Linked DNA regions of Homo sapiens: regions 1 and 2 are each linked to region 3. The links are contacts of gene promoters, found by promoter capture Hi-C in blood cells and fetal thymus (Javierre and others, 2016). All regions are on one chromosome and are shown on one strand. Each heading gives the region's core, a stretch centred on a gene start or on the middle of the fragment in contact. The rest is flanking DNA. Distances are from core to core; before and after follow the strand shown.

Region 1 (4,425 bases), core at 107-2,606, 280 kb before region 3:
GGGTTCTTCATGGAATGGCTCATTCATTTGACATTATGGAGCCAGGTGTTGGGTGTGCACCTGTAGTCCCAGCCACCCAGGGAGGTTGAGGTAGGAGGATCACTTGAGTCCCAAGAGTTCAAGGCTGCAGTGGTCACTACTGCACTCCATCCTGGGCCAACAGTGAGACCCTGTCTCAAAAAATAAAATAAAATGATGAAAAATATATTTATTTAGAGTTTTTTTTCAGGAATTCCTCATAAAAATAAGATGCTTTTTTTTCTTTATTGTGGACAATACAAGGGAAGAGAAGAATAAGTGATTTTTTAAAATGCCATCTTATATGTTTCCATTTTGATTTAATTACTTGATCTTTAAGTGATGATTTCTTTTTCAGTCTGAAGTTGACAAGCAGCAGCATAGACCCTGGTCTGAGTATCAAGCAGTTGGGTGGTTTGTATATTAATTTTAATGCAGATAAACTACAGTCTAACAAGAGAACCCTAACACAGATCAAGGAGAAAAAGAAAAATGAGGTAAGTTAATTGTGCTGTTAGGTTTTCACAGAACTAACCAATCACTTTTAGAAATTAGTCCTTGGTAAAAGACTTAATTTTCCTACAGTGAAACCACATTGGCCTAATGTGTTAGTTTTTTCCTTCTCTCTAAAACAGTCATTTCTTTTTACAATAAAATCCTATCTATGAATGATAATGCTTTAAAAATAAATCAATACAGGGTCAGTGTTCCTCATCTTACACCCACCAATTATGATCCCAGGGGTTTTGTTTTTTTCCCTTTTCTTGCTATACTTTTAGTTCTTAAGTTCTTAACTAGTGTAGACTGTTGAGAATCTGAAAGCTGTGAATGCCTGCCTGCCTCTTCCACCCGGAAAAAAATGCACATGTGCATATAGACATTTTACATATAATTTCAGAAGGAATTACTGTTAAGGTAACTTTACCCAAACCCTTAGCTTTAGCCAACACCTTGCACTGTTTTCTCCTAAATCTATATTTTCTAGCCTTGATGCTTCTCACTGTCACTTTCAGACCTTTAAATCCAAGTACCTATTTGTTCATTTAGATGTCCTCAGGTACTTGACGTCACTAATTCCCCTTTCCCTGCCTGAACCAGGAATCCTCTTCTTGTATTCTTTTTTCTGGCTAATGAAACCAAACTCTCTTTTCCTTTTGTAGTCAGTCACCAAGCCTCTAGGGGAAGATATTTCTCTGCTTCCTCCTTTTCAAGCGACTGTCACCAGCTAGTGCAGGCCTTTGCTTCTCATCTGGACTACTCCAGTGGCTTCCTTATTGATCTTGTTTTCATCTTGTTCTTCAAGCCATCCTCCACACTTCTAGATTTCTCTGTCTAAAAACACAAATCCGGCTGGGCAAGGTAGCTCACATCTATAATCCCAGCACTTTGGGAGGCTGAGGCAGGAGAATTGTTTAAGCCCAGGAGTTTGAGACCAACCTGGGCAACATAGCTAGACCACATCTCTCCTCCCTGCCCCAAAAAACACACCACACACACAGATGTGACAGTATTCTCTTGAATCCTTCAAAGTACCTCTCTACCCCACCCAGCTGTCATCTGCTCTATTCTTGCCACTGAAGACTACTGTAGTTGCCTGAACTTACCCTGCTTTTCCCCAAGCAAGTGCAAAATAATTGATCGTTGCCCTTGGGGAATATTTTACCTCCAGTCCTTCTCACAACCCCTCTGTTTCCATAACATCTAGCATAGATCTGATTCATTGTTGATCATGTGATATATTAACTTACCATCTTTTCTTTATATTCCTAAAACAGGGTTTTTCAGTCTCAGCACTACTGATGTTTTGGGCTGCATAATTTTGTTGTGAGATGTTCCGTGCATAGTAGGATGTTTAACAGCATCCCTATCTTTTGCCCACTAGATGTCAGTAGCATTCTTCCTTATCCTCACCACCACCAAAAATGTCTCCAGACATTGCCAGATGCTCCCAGTTGAGAACCACTGTCCTTGAATGTACTACAGTACTTGACTCACAGCAAACTCTTAATCATTTGTTAAGTAAATATCATGCCCCCTTTTATGAGTGATAGGAAAGCCTAGACGGCTACCTATACCACACAGAAACATCTAGGCCTGAACCTGAATTGTGTGCCTGACTGTTAATTTCTGAGTTGATCATTTCAAATGTCAGTCCCAAATTAATGCTTGTACTATATTCCTGTAAACTATTTTGAGGGCTACAGAGCAGTCTTACTTGGTTCTTGTACTGAGAAAAATACTAATTAACCTGAGGTTCCTTTAGTCACACAGAGTTTTAGGAGAATATAATCATCCTAGTCAAGTAACAAAAGTACAGAAATCATTTAGGAAAAGATAAACAGATTTGACTGCACAAATTTATTTATTTATTTTGGAGAAATGGCGTTTTCTTATGTTACCCAGGCTAGTCTTGAACTCCTGGCCTCAAGTGATTGTCCTGCCTTGGCCTCCTAAAGAGTTGGGATTATAGGCATGAGCCATCGTGCCTGGCCTTTTTTTTCTTTTTTCTTTTTTTTTTTGGGAGGGAGCTGGGTTTGGGGGGAGACAGGGTCTCACTCTGTCACCCAGGCTGGAGTGAGTGGCACAGTCATAGCTTGCTGCAGCCTCAAGCTCCTGGCCTCAAGTGATCCTTCTGCCTTAGCGTCCTGAGTAGCTGGGACTACAGGTGTGTGCCACCATGCCCAACTAATTTCTTTTCTTTTTTTTTTTTTTTTTACAGTCAGGGTCTTGCTATGTTGACCAAGGTGGTCTAAAACTCCTGGCCTCAAGTGATCCTCCTCCCTTGGCCTCCTCAAAGCACTAGGATTATAGGTGTGAGCCACTTTGCCAGGCTGACTAAAAATTTTAAAACTTACAGAAGTTTAAACTGTTGAAAAACTTATATAACATTCTGACATTATTTTAAAACCAATTTTATGTTTTTATAGCTTCTGCAGAAAGCCGTCATTACACCTGATTTTGAAAAAAACCACTGTGTTCCACCATATAGTGAATCAAAGTATCAACTTCAGAAAAAACGCAGAGTAAGTACAGTGACTTAATTAAAATGCTTAGATATGTTTGGCTATATATTTTCAGCTTATACAACATAACTGCACAATTAAACTGTATCTGTTGGTCTATATATGAGTCCAAAGAAAATAATTACAGATTTCTAAGGGCTGTAAAATATAGTACCATAAACACATTATGTATAGATTTTCACATCTTTGCAGCCACAATAGTGCATCTATAAGTAGAGGTTTTTTAAAAAAATATATATATATATAGATTACTTCTATCTGCCATTTCGACTAGTTATCCAGAGAGCTTGAAGGAAAGTTGAGGATGGTATTCTAGTAATGTTACTGTAATATGGAGCACCCTGGCACATGGTAGGCACTAACTAAATACTTGTTGTATGAATGAAACAAAATTAAATAACTTGTAGGAGTTTTCTAAAGAATAGTATTTTGTTTTATTGTAGAAATAACACAAGGTTCTGGATCCTTGTATGAGTGGCATTCTGAGACTCCTGGGTGACTGAATAAAAATGTTTACATATAAGCTCTAGAAACGAAAGTGTTTTTATACATTTTCTTACTGCATATAGTCTGTTTTAGACAATAAAAATTGAAGTTGTGTGTTATTCTCCCAGCAAGTCAGCAGTTACTCTCTGAGACAGAAAATAGATTTTACGGAGCCCTCATTTATGAAACTGATAATCCTGTCCCTAATTTAGCGGAGAAGTCACTTTTTGTGATTTAATTCCTTTTATCTCTATGATTCTGGATTTAAGTGCTTTCAATAAAGTAACCATTTGTTTTTAATTTACAAAATTTTCTGTATGTGTTACTTCAGGGGAAATGAATTATAATGTATACTCTTAGCTGTTAGAATGTTTATTTTTGAAATCATAATTTCAGAAAGAACGACAAAAAACAGCAGGGGATGGCTGGTTTGGTATGAAAGCTCCAGAAATGACAAATGAACTGAAAAATGATCTCAAAGCACTGAAGATGAGAGCCAGCATGGACCCGAAAAGATTTTACAAGAAAAATGATAGAGATGGCTTCCCCAAGTACTTCCAGGTATGAAGCAAACAGAATAGTGGTGATGATCTGTGAATTTTAGTTTGGAAAGCACTGTAGTGTTCTTTAAAGTTTACTCCTAAAATAGAGGATATTTCCATTGTGCATGCCTAATGTATGGAACATATCTGCATAGGCCATATAAGAATGGCCATTACCCAATTCAGCCACTAACTTTTAATTTGATCACATTTAGAGAGATGGTGTTACAAATGGTTTCCAGGTCAGCTAAAACCTGTTGAACCTATAAAGTTCACTATGTGAATGTATGAATAGTATCAGCCTAACAGCAAGAGTCCATACGGGATAGGGGTAAAAGGGTATCACGTGTACTAAT
Region 2 (4,958 bases), core at 436-2,935, 290 kb after region 3:
GGTCACCTCTGCCAAATTTAGAGTGGTCAGATAGGAGAGGACTGAAAATTGACATAATCTTTGGCAAGGTCAAAGTCACTGGTGACAGATCTGGTAAATATTATTTCAGCAGATGCAATGAACATATAATTGGAGTGGGTTGAACAGAGAAAGAGAAGTTAGAAAGTAGAGAGAGCAAGTATAGGCAACTCTTGATAAGCTTTACTGTGAAGGCATGCTGAGATAGAGGGCAGAAGCCAGCAAGGATGGAGAGTCTAGAGAGAGTTTAGTCAAGCAAGACAATACTAAGGCATGATGCAGAAAAGAGGACACATAATGGCAGGAGTGAAATCCTCAAATAGGCAGGAGGGCATGGGATCCAGAGCCCTGGAAAGGACAACCTCATTGTGAAAGGAGGGAGAACATGTATTCAGATTCAGGTAGGTTGGTAGATTCGATGGTGGGAAGATATAATTACTGCCTGAGGCTTCTGTTCTTTCAGTGAAGTGTAAATTGAGATCACCAGTTGAGAGTGAGGAAAGATGAAGTGTTGGAGGTTTGAGGAGAGAGGAGATGTGAAATAAATAACTTGGAGAGTCAGAGATAATGTCATATTCATATTTGTATCCCAGCATCCTACCACAGTGCCTGGCACATAGGAGGCACTGAAAAACAGTTTTGAAGAATGACTGAAAGTCAGAATCAGAAAAGAAAGAACAATGATACACACTTAAAACTTACATCTTAATACAAGAATAACATATTTGTAGAATATCTTGGTTTATAAATGTTTTAGCATCTACTTGAATTTACTCAATAAATTCCAGAATACTCGAGGAAGGAGGCATACTTGCAAAAGGTAATTTAAGACAAGATGACCTCTTTACACTTTATTTACAAGAGCACCTTTCTCATTAGGCTGATTTTTTCAAGAGTAAGGAGATGCTGTCTTTTCATCTTAATATTCTCAGGACATGCATTAAATAGTGCCTGGCACAAAATTAAGTGCACAATAATGCTTTTTCGGTTTTTTGTTTGTTTTTGAAACAGGGTCTTGCTCTGTCACCCAGGCAGGAGTACAGTGGTGTGATCACAGTTTACTGCAGCTTCAACCTCCTGGGCTTAAGTGATCCACCCCAGCCTCTCAAGTAGCTGGGACTATAGGCATGTGCTACCATACCCAGCTAATTTTATTTTTTGTAGAGACGGGGTCTCACTATGTTGCCCAGGCTGGTATCAAACTCCTGGGCTCAAGCAATCCTCGTGTATCTCCCAATGTATTAGGATTACAGGTGTGAGCCACCACATGGGCCAGTAATGCTTTTTTGAATAAATAAATGACTATAATCACATGGAGCTTCTAATCTCCAAAGGATTTACAGGCTGAAATAGAAAAGTCTCCAAAAGAATTTAAATACTTCAGGGATGAAAAGCCAAAGTGGATTGATTATAAAGACAAACAGATGCTTTAGGGACATTTTAAGGGAGTCACAATATGCAACCAAACATTTCCACAAAACTTTCTTTGTAACATTGTTTCAAGAATAAAAACCTAAATGATTTTGGGTCTCACTAGCATGGCAATTTTTATATTTGTTTGAGTTTATAGGCTCTTTTGACCTTTTCTCTATAGTAGTAATAGATTTTTGTCCTTTTGCCTAACACTGTGCATTATAGTGAACTACATTCCCAGATACCTTAGAATCACCCATGTTTATCCCTTTCCTCCTCTAGGAGGGCTCTGAGAGATTTCATTTCTGTCCTGCTGATGAAGTCTACGTTCATTCAGGGCCTGCTGTGGAAGACCAGCCCCAAAGGTGTGTTATACTAAGTAGGCAGATTCTATCTCCATCTAATTCCTAAGTTAGGCTTTTCTTACTCCTAGAGTTCTGTATAGCATGGCCTTCTTATTTCTTGTAACATTGCTTTTGGGAATAAAATGTTTGAAGAAAGGAATATAAAGAAGAAAAAATGCTGGGGAATATATAAGGGAAAAAGAACAAAGGTTGAAAAACAGAAACAGAGAAAGGGAGGAAAGATAAATCTGACCACTTTAAAGTCAGTCAGTATACCTACAGACATTCAGTTGAGCAATAAAAGAATGGGATAAACTATGCAACTGAGAAAAAAAATGACAGAGGGGCAGGAAAGACTGGTCATTTTGTCCTGTAATGAAGACCACAGAAGTCATTTTTACGTCAGGGTGAAATAATTGTGGCCATAGCTATCTCTGGTCTCATGTTTATACATCACTACAAATCACAAGTGAGAAATAATATAAACATATTTACTAAGGCTTTACCAAGAACAGTTGGCTTTTCAGATTTAGAAATAGCTCAAAGGGGAAGGAGGTATTACTCAGTCATTATGTGACTGGCACCCTCTAGTGGCTGTTTAGATTTCCTGCATGTGGATCCTAATTGCATTTTGAGGAAAAGACCTTTAGAACAAAAATCCCAATACTCAAGTTATATGTCCTGACATACGGCTTTTTTTCAGTGTGCTTTGGCAGCAAAGCTAAGTTAGAAGTGTAGAAATAGGGGAAGATAGATTATTTGGGTGTAACATACTTTAATTATTGAAAATGAGCTACATCGTTGACAAAATGAAATGGCAGCGAGAGAATAGCAAGAAGTCCATTCAAGGGAAGTTTTTTCTACCCATTTGTCATTGTCTTCATTCAACTCTACAGAATTTCCACATGGGAATTTAACTCTGCAAATGAATCTATATGATGCTATTAATTGATATTTACATATTAATGAATGTACTTGGAAAAATATTATTCAACTAGGAGTCCTTTTCTTACAGTTTATACGTAAAGACCATCCTTTTATTTATGCTAAGATAGCTCTTTGCAGAGCTTGATATTATGTTTTGTGAATTTCCTACTTAATCCAGTGTTAAAAATCTTCGCTTTTATTCTTTACCATTGTCGACCTAAAGGTAGATGCTAAGGCACAAAATATGATTTAAAGAGTTTACTTAAGCTGGGCACAGCTACTCAGGAGGCTGAGGCAGAGGATTGCTTGAACCCAGAAGTTCAAGGCCAGCCTGGGCAACATAGCAAGACCCCATCTCAGGACAAAAAAAAAAAGTTTACTTGAGCCAAGATAAGGACAGTTGTTCTAAAGACTCAGACCCAGTTACCTTGGATATGAGCTCCGTCAGCCTCAGTTACAAGCAAGCTTTCAAAGGAAAAAAAGATAATTAAAAATTATCAGGAGTGGGCTGATAGAAAGTTGTTTGACAGGCCAGGTGTGCTGGCTCATGCCTGTAGTCCCAGCACTTTGGGAGGACGAGGTGGAGGACTTTGAGACCAGCCTGGGAAACACAGTGAGACCCTGTCTGTACAAAAAATAAAAAAATAAGCCAGGCATGGTGGTGGGCACCTGTATCCCCAGCTACTCAGGAGGCTGAGGTGGGAGAATTGCTTGAACCCAGGAGGTTGAGGCTGCAGTGAGCTCAGATTGTGCCACTGCACTCCAGCCTGGGTGACAGAGACCCTGTCTCAAAAAATAATAATTTAAAAAAAAGTTGTTTGACAGGAATTCTCATTGGTTTACAGAGATAACATTAAGTGTTTGACTGTACATTGTTGAACGATACGATATGAGTTCTGGTGTCCAGCTGTAGCATTTCATGGCTTCTTGGTGTCAGCCTCGGGCCCACGTAGCAGGTGGCATCAAGAGACAATTATTTGGCCAAGTGCAGTGGCTCACACCTATAATCCCAGCACTTTGGGAGGCCAAGCAGATGGATCACTTGAGGCCAGGAGTTTGAGACTGGCCTGGCCAATATGGCAAAACTCTGCCTCTACTAAAAATATAAAAATTAGCCAGGTGTGGTGGCATGCACCTGTAGTCCCAGCTACTCGAGAGGGTGAGGCATAAGAATCTCTTGAACCCGGGAGGCGGAGGTTGCAGTGAGCCGAGATCACACCACTGTACTCCAGCCTGCGTGACAGAATGAGACACTATCTCAAAAAAAAAAGAAAAGAAAAGAAAAGAAAAGAAAATATAAAAGAAAAAAAAAGACAATTATTTAGCCCAAGGGGAAGTGAAGTGAAGTAACTGCTGTTTCATTCTAATGCCTGTTTGGGCCTGATAATTTAAAAGGGCTTACATTCCTAAGATAAAGTCTCTTTTCTTCTTTTTTTACATTGTTTTTAGTGATCAGGAAAGAGTAGTATGTTTGATATAGCGACAATAATCCAAACTGATCATGAGATAACTAACCATGTTGTGAGTTGTTTGCTAGCCTAAGGCATTATTCAATAGCCAAAAGCAAGCTGTGGTATTGACAAGATCCTTTCACTGTTGCACTTCTGGTACTGTAAAGAATGGACTAGATCCGGGCAAGTAAAAAGTTAGCTGGCTGTTTTGTTAGTCCAAGGGAGAGAGGATGCAAACCTAACCTAGAGCATTGGCACATAGGATGGAAAAGATGGGTTAGACCAAAGATATTTCTGAAAGAGAATTTCAAGATTAGTAACTGAATATGAAAGGAGTGAGAGGGGGAGGAATTAAGAATAACTCTGAGATCTCCGGCTTGGGAAAATGGGTGGATGATGACACCATTAACTAAGAACAGGAATATAAGATCATTTGTATTTGTACAAATACAAATTTGGAATTCAAGGTTAAGATTGGCATTTGAGAAACAGATTTGGGAATTAATAAATGAAGCTATGAGAATAGATAAGGCCATCAAGGAAGCACACTGGAGAAAAAGGAAGAGGTCCAAGGAAAGCAGTGCAACATCTAAAGGCAGCGAGAAAGCCCAAAATAAGAATTATCGGAGTGACGGGAAAATGGCATTTGAGAAGATCACAGAAGAGAGAGCATCAAGGCATGGTAGTCTACAGTGTTAAATGGGGCAGAAAAGTCAAGTAGACTGCAGAAAAAAAAGCCAGCCGTTTTGCAATGAATTCAACAGGTTAAAATAACTACCACTTGTAGAGGAGGAAAAAAACTTTT
Region 3 (4,783 bases), core at 2,175-4,674:
GAAAACCTTTTGCAATTGCTTGTTCACTCTGGGTCTCCCTCTCTCCCTCCTTTCCTCTCATTTTCCTCCCTCTCTCTTTCCCTCCTTCCCTTTTAAAATACAAGTCTAGGCAGTTGTGTAACCTTCAAACTTTTCATAAAATATGCAAGAGCTTAAAGGCATAGTTTTTGAAGTCTGGTCTTTCATCCCAAATTATTTGAGAGCGTCAATCTTAATATCTTCATTTCTCTCTCTCTAGGTACTTTCCTGTAATACCCTACCTCCTATAGTACCCTGTAGGATTCACTCTCTGGAGTCTACAGGGAGAAAGAGCAATAATTTAGGATTTTCCTGTTCTTCTCTTAGGAATTAGGACAGAAGTAACAAGATAGCTGATTTTATATTTTTTGTAACCAGTTTAAAAGCATTATCTCAAAACCTGGAATAAAAGATTGATGCATATAAAGTGCTAAAAAGAATAATAACCCTTGCTGTTATGAGCAGGGCTGAGAAAGGAGCCGGGGAGAGGGAGAGGTGGCTGAGTGTTAGGACATCAGGGAGGAAGGAAAATGCAAAGATAACTGTGGAAATAGCTTCTTGGATATAAGCAAATAAATTTTCAACAAAGAACTGTGCAAGACCTGCTGTATATTTTCAGATCTCCACATTTTCAGAGGTCAGACCAAGAAGTGGGCCCAGGGTGCAGCACAAGGGATTTAGGCTAAGCCTGCAGACTGCCTGTCAGGGTGACTCAATGGGGGTCAGGTCACAATATGGGTTAGGATTTAGTTCAGCTGCCAGTGACGGGAACACCCACAAATCACAGGCTTCCATAAGGTAGATCACCTAGAAGACCTGGAGGCTGGCGGTCCAGGGCTGGTGTGTTGGCCCCACAGTCATCAGGGACCCAGCCTCAATCAGACCTTCCACCCAGCCAATTCCTTGGTGTGGCTCCCCACTCACCGTCCAGAATGGTGTTGAGTCTCCAGCCATCACATCTCAGCTCCTTGGTCAGAACTGAGTCCTGTGGCCACATCTCCCTGGAAGAGACAGAGATTGAGGAATGTGGTCTTTTGGCTGAATGGCAGCATGCCCAGCGAAAACAGGGCTTCAGATGACTTGAGGGCGAAAGGGAGAATCTCCATAACTAAGCAAAGTCAGCATCTTTTCTCATCCTAGGGTATTTGTTTACTGAATACCCAGTGCCTGATGTTTTCAGGCATTGCTCAAGGGCAGTGGGGAAAAAGTAGATGGATTTCTGTTTTCATGAAACTTACAGTCTAGTGGGAGGCAAGTCAGACAATAAACGAACAATAAAGCGTGGCCGAGTTGACAAACTGCATTCCACACTCAAGCTGTCTTCAGATGAAGCCGTACAATATTAATGATGGGAGCGGACGGTGTCAAACATCACCGTCTAAAGCCTGCAGGCACCCTGGACAGCCAGCGTCCGCATCTCTTTGATGCAAATTCCATCCTTCAGACACTCCCAAGTGAGTGTCTGCCCAGTGAGAAGGAGGGAGAAGTAAACAAATAGTAAGCCAGAGCCCCATCTAAAAATCAGCCCCTGAGTTACTCTTCAGCTAGCGCTCCTTATGGGCCAATGTGCAAAGAAGCACTAGAGGATGAGAATCTAGCCCTAAAATTCCAGGGCTTTGTTGTTGTTGTTGTTGTTGTTGTTGTTTGGTGGAAAAGGATTTGGAGCTATTTCTTTGCTGACGTGCAAAGTAGTGTAATAGGCCGGGCATGGTGGCTCACGCCTGTAATCCCAGCACTTTGAGAGGCCAAGGTGGGTGGATCGCTTGAGCCCAGGAGTTTGAGACCAGCCTGGGCAACATGGCAAAACCCTATCTCTAAAAAAAAAATTACAAAAATTAGCCAGGCATGGTGGCACGTGCCTGTTGTAGTCCTAGCTACCAGGGAGGCTGAGATGGGAGGATCGCTTGAGCCCAGGAGGTTGCTTGAGCCCAGGAGGCCAAGGCTACAGTGAGCTGAGATTGCACCACTGTGCTCTAGCACAGTGAGACCCTGTCTCAAAAAAAATAAAATAAATAAACATTTTTAAAAAGTAGTGTGATAAGTAATAATTTTGTGGCTCCCATGGGGGTTTGAAGGACAAGCTGGGAAACTTGGGAGAACCACAGGGACACAGCCTTTTTCTGTTCATGGGACTTTCAGCAAGCGGTTCCTGGTCAGCATGCCTGGTCTTGCTGGGAACTGGGCAGGTTTCCAGGTTCAGTTCACATGTTGTAAGCAGGCATGGTTCTAAATTAAACCTGGAGCCACCGCTGTCCACCCAGCACTCACTGCCATGGCCACTGTGCAACGCCGCAGACCACTGATTCTCAAACATCTGAGGTGAAGGACCAGGGTTGTCTTTTTAAATTTGTTTCACTTTCCTATCTGTCATAAAAATGAAATATTAGAAATGTGAAATAAAGACAGACTTCTGTTATTAGATTCAAGAGACATAAAATTGCTCTGTCCATTTGCCCTAAAAGTTTCTAAAGACTGACTCAATTCCTGAACATGAGTTTACCAACAGCAAAGAAGTTAGGGCCATCGCTACCAGCCCAAGGACTGTGCTTTGGGCCTCACTGCCCAGAGGCCCAGGATCTAAGGCCAGAAGGGAACAGCTGCCCTCCCCACGCTATGTCAGGACAGTCCTGAAGGAGAATGAGGAAGCTCTCCGCTGGGAAGAGAGCAGGCTGGGCTGCTGTGTCTTGCTGTCTGTACATCTCTCTGGCCCTTCCTGCCCAGCTGCTTGAGTAGACTGGTAAAAGGAACCTCTTGGTGGACTCTCCTACCATAGTCCCCATGTGCAGGTGAAAATTTTATTACATGGTTGCGGCCGGAGAAACGAAAGGTCACAGCTCTTTGTAATCATTATCCAGGCTCCCCTACCTGAATGCAGGCTGTAGCATAACTGGTTGGATTAGTGAAGCAGGCGGTCACCTCCAGCTGGCATGGCCTGGTGTGGCCTGGGCAGGGTGAGCTCATGGTTGACTCTGTGTTGCAGTTCTCCAAGGAGAGGCACATCATGGACAGGACCCCCGAGAAACTGAAGAAGGAGCTGGAGGAGGAGCTGCTCCTGAGCAGCGAGGACCTGCGCAGCCATGCCTGGTACCACGGCCGCATCCCCCGACAGGTACCTGGTCTTGTCCCTTCCAGAGCATACACGGCTGCTCTCAGGCAATGTACAGATTGATGACCCGCAGGGTCCCACTCCGAGGCCACATGGGCGGAAGCACCTGTGTAACCAAAAACAAATACTCTAAAAATGACTTCATTTAGACCCTTCTCTAAGAAGACCTTGGGAAGAGCTGAGGTCAAGAACCCAAAGCACACATCCACATGTTCAGGAAGTGAAGGGACAGCCAGCGCTCCTGGGGTCTGCAAGCACAGCGTTGTGGGAGGCAGCAGCCACAGAGTCAGTAACCGGAAGAACTAGGAGGGCGGGCTGTGGCCCAGGTAATTGAACTCTTGGCCAGCTGCCAGCAGCCTCAGACCATTTGCAGCCCCTCCTTCTCAAGGCAGTGGCTTAGCTTCGGGAGGAGAGAGGGCAGGTGGCCCAGATCAACAAGGCTGCCTCTGCCCCATTGAGCTGGCAGTTATTCACACTCTCCATCACTTCCCTACTGGATCCTGTGACCCAGAGGTGGGAAAAAAGGGGAATTAAACCCATGACCACAGACTCATGGCCCAGAATATACTTTGTGATCGTCATTTGGGTGATTGCCATAAATAATGTTTTTTCATTTAATACTGTAAAAATTGAAAAATAGAGTAAGTCTGCAGAATTGAGGCATAGAATTTCCCTTGGGTTTTTATTGTAAACCTGATCTGGCCAATCATTAACCAAGGACAACATGACAGGAAGTGTGTGGACAGGGGCTGGGGGGAAGGGCATCATGTCGTAAGTTTTTTTTCTTTTTTTTGAGACAGAGTCTTACTCTATCACCCAGGCTGGAGTGCAATAGCACAATCTCAGCTCACTGCAACCTCTACCTCCTGGGTTCAAGCGATTCTCCTGCCTCAGCCTCTCTGGTAGCTGGGATTACAGGTGTCCACCACCATGCCCTGCTAACTTTTATATTTTTAGTAGAGACGGGGTTTCACCATGTTGGCCAGGCTGGTCTCGAACTCCTGCCCTCAAGTGATCCACCCACCTCAGCCTCCCAAAGTGCTGGGATTACAGGCATGAGTCACTGTGCCCAGGCTTTTTTTTTTTTTTTTTTTTTTTTAATGTAGTAGATTTCTTGGCACAATCAAATAAATAATTATTATTCTGACTTTGTTTTTTTAAGTTTAAAATTGATTGTAGAAAACATAGATAGCAAAAAGAAGGAAATTAAACTCTTATCCATAATTCTCCTCATAATTCTCCTGGGGATAACCACGATGAATACTTTTGTGTACATACATCCTCCCGGGCTTTTTGAAATCAAGTATGAGATTGTACTACATATACTTTTTTGGTAGCCCATTCTACTCACTTACTATGTCCTGGGAATTTTCACCCACTGTAGAATATTCTTCTGCACCAGCCTACATTGTATGTCTGTCCACGGTATGCATGCACTACAATTTACTGGACACATAGGGTGTTTCTAATACTCTGACCAATATCCTTTAAGATTGCTGTGTTCATACCTACAATTATTTTCACAGGCTCAATTCTAAGAAGTGGCATTTCTATGTGAAAACATTTTTAAGGCAAAGATGCAATTTTAAAGTAACCATGGTAGCCTACTATTTTGACCTAACAGAAGTATACTGTTGATCAAATGTTGGAATGTTCCAG

Evidence for each region. The method cuts DNA at HindIII sites, captures the fragments that hold promoters and counts their contacts. A CHiCAGO score of 5 or more calls a contact.
Region 1: a fragment that was not itself captured here is called in contact with the fragment with the promoter of BCAR3-AS1 in region 3 in 2 of 17 cell types (M1 macrophages and monocytes); the score reaches 6.0 in M1 macrophages.
Region 2: a fragment that was not itself captured here is called in contact with the fragment with the promoter of BCAR3-AS1 in region 3 in 2 of 17 cell types (erythroblasts and megakaryocytes); the score reaches 5.0 in erythroblasts.

What each region holds. Positions count from the first base shown.
Region 1 is chr1:93,871,735-93,876,159 of GRCh38, reverse strand. It overlaps DNTTIP2 (deoxynucleotidyltransferase terminal interacting protein 2), which reads left to right. Exons shown (of 7, transcript NM_014597.5): 3 at 377-515; 4 at 2,946-3,041; 5 at 3,924-4,088. Among named protein-coding and RNA genes, the nearest start is that of DNTTIP2, 5.3 kb to the left of the region's middle. The HindIII fragment of the contact is 7,821 bases long and covers 1-4,425 here.
Region 2 is chr1:93,302,226-93,307,183 of GRCh38, reverse strand. No RefSeq gene overlaps it. Among named protein-coding and RNA genes, the nearest start is that of CCDC18-AS1, 41 kb to the left of the region's middle. The HindIII fragment of the contact is 2,968 bases long and covers 202-3,169 here.
Region 3 is chr1:93,590,609-93,595,391 of GRCh38, reverse strand. It overlaps BCAR3-AS1 (BCAR3 antisense RNA 1), which reads right to left and starts at 3,424. Exons shown (of 4, transcript NR_034091.1): 1 at 2,884-3,424; 2 at 943-1,019. It overlaps BCAR3 (BCAR3 adaptor protein, NSP family member), which reads left to right. Exons shown (of 12, transcript NM_003567.4): 4 at 2,999-3,127. RefSeq lists enhancers at 3,062-3,221, 2,728-3,228. The HindIII fragment of the contact is 15,312 bases long and covers 1-4,783 here.